Linked DNA regions of Homo sapiens: region 1 is linked to region 2. Evidence: promoter capture Hi-C in human tissues and cell types (Jung and others, 2019). All regions are on one chromosome and are shown on one strand. The core of a region is centred on a gene start or on the middle of the fragment in contact, and the rest is flanking DNA. Distances in the headings are between cores, read along the strand shown. Region 1 overlaps CCDC60 (coiled-coil domain containing 60). Region 2 holds the start of SUDS3 (SIN3A corepressor complex component SDS3).

Evidence for each region. The method cuts DNA at HindIII sites, captures the fragments that hold promoters and counts their contacts. A contact is called where the count stands out against the background at its distance.
Region 1: a contact is called between a fragment that was not itself captured here and the fragment with the promoter of SUDS3 in region 2, in 1 of the 25 tissues and cell types used here (dorsolateral prefrontal cortex).

The regions. Positions count from the first base shown.
Region 1 is chr12:119,477,662-119,480,569 of GRCh38, reverse strand. It overlaps CCDC60 (coiled-coil domain containing 60), which reads right to left. Exons shown (of 14, transcript NM_178499.5): 4 at 1,369-1,476. The region is part of intron 2 of PRKAB1-AS1 (PRKAB1, TMEM233 and CCDC60 antisense RNA 1); the gene reads left to right. Among named protein-coding and RNA genes, the nearest start is that of TMEM233, 110 kb to the left of the region's middle. The HindIII fragment of the contact is 3,028 bases long and covers 1-2,800 here.
Region 2 is chr12:118,375,008-118,377,863 of GRCh38, reverse strand. It overlaps SUDS3 (SIN3A corepressor complex component SDS3), which reads right to left and starts at 1,309. Exons shown (of 12, transcript NM_022491.3): 1 at 1,031-1,309. The coding sequence starts at 1,172. It overlaps LOC124903031 (a long non-coding RNA gene), which reads left to right and starts at 1,737. Exons shown (of 2, transcript XR_007063480.1): 1 at 1,737-1,908; 2 at 2,073-2,566. RefSeq lists silencers at 913-1,062, 1,093-1,312 and an enhancer at 754-1,254. The HindIII fragment of the contact is 10,741 bases long and covers 1-2,856 here.

The DNA of each region.
Region 1 (2,908 bases), core at 37-2,536, 1.1 Mb before region 2:
ATGATGGTGTTGGTGATGGTTTTTGCATCTTCCATTCATGAACTAAGTACTCTTATTAGTGATTTTCTTTTGTTTGCCATCTTATCCTATGATTTCACTCTTGTATTCTTTTACTCTTCAAGTATAGGAAACTTGGCTTGCCAAATATATTATGAGCTCCTTAAAGACAAGGCTTTGGGATATATGTTCTATGTAGTGTGTGGTGATGAAAGCTTGGGCTTTGCAGTCAGACCGACCTGACTCAGCAACACACTGACCTCTGTGACCCTGAATAGGTGAGTTTATGTCTCTGAGCTTCTGCTTTCCCATCTGCAGAGAGGGGATAATGATACACCTACACAACAGGGAGGCTGAGAGGACTGAGTGAGATAATGCTACAGAGTGATGAGGAGTGGCCATTATCACTGTGAACACTGTAGAAGCCTAATAAATATTTGACAAATGAGCAGACAGAGAAGTCTGGAATCATTGTATCACAGCTCTAAATGAATCCATTGCCCTAAAGCAGTGGTTCTCAATGTGGAGTGTGTGTGTGTGTGTGTGTGTGTGTGTGTGTGTGTGTGTGTGTGTGTGTATGATGTACGGTGGGGGCTCATGCACTTTTGCTCCCAGGGGACATTTGGTAATGTCTGGAGACATTTTTGGTTGTCAACACTGGTATCTAGTGGGTAGAGGCCATGGATGCGGCTAAACATCCTACAATACACAGGACAGCCTTTCACAACAAAGAATTAATTATTTCTCTCAAAATGTCAGCGGTGTCAAGGCTGAAAAACCCTGCCCTAAAGTCAGAAGCTTGTATCCCTGTGCCTGAAATCTTCCAGCTGAAAAGTGCTAACTGGTGAAAAAGAAAAAGTTGGGCTTGAGATTTGGAATAGACACAAGGGGAACAAGACATCAAGACTTTAGAAAGCAAGAGTGTTCTTTGGAAGGTTGATTAGTTCCTGTTGCACCACACAATGATGAGTTCATGCCTCAGGTCAGAAAACTGGATGGGCTTCTCTGGGAAACAGCTCCTTGAGTCTTGGGGAAAACATGCCCCTGAGCACAGGCTGAGATGTTCTCGCACACACTCGATGAGGGCTGTAGACAGATTTTATCAGGCTTTGCAAACTATTTGACATTAGAGCGTCTGGCTTGGCAAGAAATGAAATGACTCAGTCCCAGCTGATTTGCCACTTAGCTGTAAACCACTGTGTCTACTTTCTGTTATTTTTATATGCCAAATAGCTTTGCCAGCTCCAGGCTCCATGTCCCTTTCAAGAGGACAAAGGAACAGCTACTGACATGACAGCTCGTTGAGTCATTTCAGTTCGGCTTCAATTTATAAGCTAGCAAAGCAAATGAGCTGGAGGTGAGACTACTTACACGTGAGCCTCGGTTAGCGAGGGAGAAATGATGCAGCTGTGGATGGGAGTGAATGGGCGACGTGTGACTCTAGCTCCCAGTGTCTTCAACTTCTCATCATCATATGTGCTGAAGGACAAGCAGACAGAGAAACAATGTGAACAATGAGCAGTAGCTTTGAACACCTTCTTCTCTTGCCACGGTCTATTCGGCAGATATGACTGGACACTTACTATGTATCAGGCAAATAATTTCTGCTGGAGGGATGAGGGTTTCAGATGCAGTTCCTTAACAAAGCATATAAAAGTCCCTGCCCTCGGTCGGGTGCCGTGGCTCATGCCTGTAATCCCAGCACTTTGGGAGGCCGAGGCGGGTGGATCACAAGGTCAGGAGATCAAGACCATCCTGGCTAACACGGTGAAACCCTGTCTCTACTAAAAATACAAAAACAGCTGGGCGTGGTGGCAAGTGCCTGTAGTCCCAGCTACTCGGGAGGCTGAGGCAGGAGAATCTCTTGAACCCGGGAGGCAGAGGTTGCAGTGAGCTGAGATCGTGCCATTGCACTCCAGCCTGGGTGACAGAGTGAGACTCCGTCTCAAAAAAAAAAAAAAAAAAAAAAGTCCCTGCCTTATGGAGTATATAATCTCTAGAAGAGCCAAGAGAATAAACAAGATAAATCATGCGGCATACTAGTATATTATACTAGGGTTGGAAATGTTTGCTTCAAGGGCCAGACAAGGTATATTTTCAGCTGTGTTCTGGAAACAGCAATTTAATACCATATTTAGGTGTTTTTTCTTTCACCATTACAGCAGAGCAAATCATTTCCGTTATAGAAAATAGGATTTTTTTTGGGGGGGGGTGGTTGTTGTCATGCTTGAGTCATATGATATATATAGTTTGTTTGTTTGAGACAGAATCTCACTGTCACCCAGGCTGGAGTGCAGTGGCGTGATCTTGGCTCACTGCAACCTCTGCCTCCTAGGTTCAAGCAATTCTCGTGCCTCAGCCTCCCGAGTAGCTGGGATTACAGGCATGTGCCACCATGCCTGGCTACTTTTTTGTATTTTAAGTAGAGATGGGGTTTTGCTATGTTGGCCAGGCTGGTCTTGAACTCCTGTCCTCAAGTGATCCACCTGCCTTGGCCTCCCAAAGTGCTGGGATTACAGGCGTGAGACATTGCACCTGGCTGTGGGGTATATATTTTTCTGTCCATGGCCAAATTCAGCCCACAGATATATTTTAATTAATCCACTCTCTTTTTCTCTCTCTTTCTCTCTCTCTCTCCTCTCTCTCTCTGTGAGTGTGTGTGTGTGTGCGTGTGTGCAATTGAATCAATTGTCTGTATTTTAAAATTGGGAGATGTCACATAAAAATGAAAAAACTTTGGCCTTCAAAAAATTGAAAGCTCTGGCCACTCGGGACCTGTGTTTCTACACAAGAATGATGGGCCACAGACTGCTTTGAATGAGGTGTGTGCTTCTTCAGTTACCCCAAACACAAGCATCCCTGTTCTCACTCTCTGCCTTTCTTTCTAATTCATGCCATCTGCCTGTTACCT
Region 2 (2,856 bases), core at 60-2,559:
CTTGGCACTCGGGAAACTCAGATGAATAAAACGTAGGCCCCATTCCAAACAGCTGGTCTAGCTTTTGCTCCACGGCCCGATTTTGTCCCAGAATATTCCGCTCATATATCGGTCTCTCTTTGTTTCCTATTTCTCCTCCCTTGATCTCTCACATTTCATCACCTTCCTCCTCCTCCATCCCTCCAAAATAGCGTTCCTCACACTTGCCAAATTATAAAGCCCAGTTTGAAAAGCAAGGCTCTGAGACTCTGTGATGACAGTGCAAAGAGCGTGGGACTGAAAACACAACACCTGGGGACCATTAAGCAAATCTCTCCCTCTCTTACCTGTTTCCGGGAGGGGGGCGGGTGGGGAGAACATTTACGGAGTATTTACAGTACCAGGCCAAGTACTTTATGCGCATGTCATTTAATCCCTATACCGACCCTAGGAAGTGCCTTCTAGGGCAGGTGTGGGAATTAAACAGCTCCATTACAGTTGGGTAAATCGAGGCTGGAAAACTTAAGTTTACAAAGCTGAGTTAAGTGACAAAGCCAAATTTAAACCTGTATCTGGCTGGTTCTAGGTCCCTTTCCTTTAACCAACCTGAGTTCTCAATAGTGTACTACCTAAAGTATAGATGACTTATGCATTTCGGGGGTGGGGAGGGGCAACTTTGGACTCTGATGCTCTCACACACAAAAAAGGGGCGAACTACACTCGATGTATTCAGTAAATGAGTTTCTAATTCCTACTAGTGAGTGAGGTTCAATCAGAAACGGCTGGGAGGGAGGACGGGGTCTTAAAGGGACCCCCAGCGTGACAACATCTAAGTCCCCTCTCCCCATCACGGTCGAGTGTAACGCACCCAGGGCTTCCCCGCTACTCCAGCACGGATGGGGGTAACTTCCCCGAGCCCCGCAACTCCCGGCGGCCCCTCCACGCAGCCCCAGGCCCCGGAGGCCGCCCCGCCCCTCTCCCGAACAGCCCCACCCCCTCCCCCAGCGGTCCCACCTCCGCTCCGGGCGGCCGGGCGAGCGGCAGGACTCACCTTCGTCCGACTCGCGGCCCCGACAGCTGCGCTCGTCGTCCTCGGCGCTCTCCAGCTCTTCATCCTCCTCGGGGTAGTACTCGGGGGCCGGCGGCGCTCCAGCCTGGGCCGGGGCCGGGGCCAGCAGCCCCGCGGCACTCATGTCGCCTCTGACCGCAGCTGAGCGTGGCCCACGGACACCGCGGCCACCCGCGCTCGGTACTCGCCGTCTGCCTAGCAGTGTCCGCGGCAGCCCCCAACTCGAGGACCGGCAGCCACGGCGACCCCTTCCCCGTCTCCGCCGAGCTCCGCCCCCCGCGCCCGCGCTCGGCAACGGGGGCCTCGCGCCGCGAGCGACTTCCGGGTCGAGAGCTGCCCGACAACGGCCTGATTCCGCCATCCTTGGGGGAGTGGAGATGCCGCTGGACGCCCCCGTCGCCACAACCTCAGCCCTTTCATCGCCGTCTTAAAATCCTCAACGTATAGTGGGGGAGGGGCGGAGCCAGGTTCGCTAGAGTCAGGCAAATCTACGGGCAGGCCCAGCAGCGGTCAGGACCCCGAGGCTCGCAGGCGACTTCCGGAGACAGCCGCCAGGCGGCGCCTGGAGCTAGAACTAAAGCGGTGATCGTTAGCGACCTAGGGGCGGAGGGTTTGAAGGGCCCTTGGCAGGTGGAGGTGGTCTCTAATTTAAGCAGGGAACGACGCGACCTGCCCCCTTATTAGGTCGGAAAACCTAGACGTCCAGAGTGTGCGTGATCATGCAGCCTGGCTCCTCCTGTGACTAGTTAGAGCTTTATTAAGAGCTAAAAGACAAGGATGCTGATATTCCATCCTGGGGACAGCAAAATAGTATTTTCCCAGCCCTTAGGAATCCTTTCTGTTTGTGTAAGGTTTATTCGGTAAGATGTTCCCCCGGTTTTACAAATGAGAAACGAGCTGTCGTTTGCCTAAAAAAAAATAGTAACGTCCAGTCTGATTTTTTAGACTCCGAGACCCAGGCCCTCCGCGGTACAGCTGCCTTGAATATTAATTTTTTAAAAGGTGCTTTTGCTTAATCCAACAGCTTGCTCTGAGCTCTCAACTGAAGAAGGGGAGAATTTGCCTACCAGAAGTTATTTGGCTAAGGCCCACGTGGAAGCTTAAAAAACAGGAGAGCTGAGTATCTGCAAGAATTAATTTGTGCGATTCCCTCTGAGTAGAAAAGGAACACGGTGTTATAAGTTTTGCTGAACGAATAGATTTAAGGTGTCCCTTTAGCTAAGAGCAATGTGGTCTAGTTGTGTGTAGCGAGAAAAAAGGGTAAGGTTTTTAATGGTTTGTCCAAAGTAGCCCCACTTTTATGTTCCACCCGAGTCTCCGTAGGAAACGCAACCAGTAGTGAAAATGAACAGATGTGAAAACCAGGGTGGAACCGAATATTCCCATTCTCAGACCTTTTGTGATTAAATTTATCTCTGAATTGTTCCCTATGGACTCTTCTGAAAATGAAACGTTATTCTCATCCCACTTATTTTGACATTTATTTACTACCTTGTTTTAATTAAAATCTTGGCTCTATTTGTAAGTGATTTTTTCTCCCAACAAAACTAAAGAATTTCCAGAATGGAATGCTAAGATGTCTTTCCAGGAGTTCTGAGATCTTCTGAAGCCCCTTCTAAATAAGAATCATTCTCAGATCGCACCGTAGGTCTGCCATCTATATTTAAACTAGGATTCCAGAACTGTCTCTTGTCCAAAAGATGAAGTCATTTTCTTTCTTTGTGCTGTTGGAGAACATCTAAATTACTTGCAATCAACTATATTGAGTAACTTGCGTTCCTGTCAGTAGCAGTAATCATAGTGCAGAA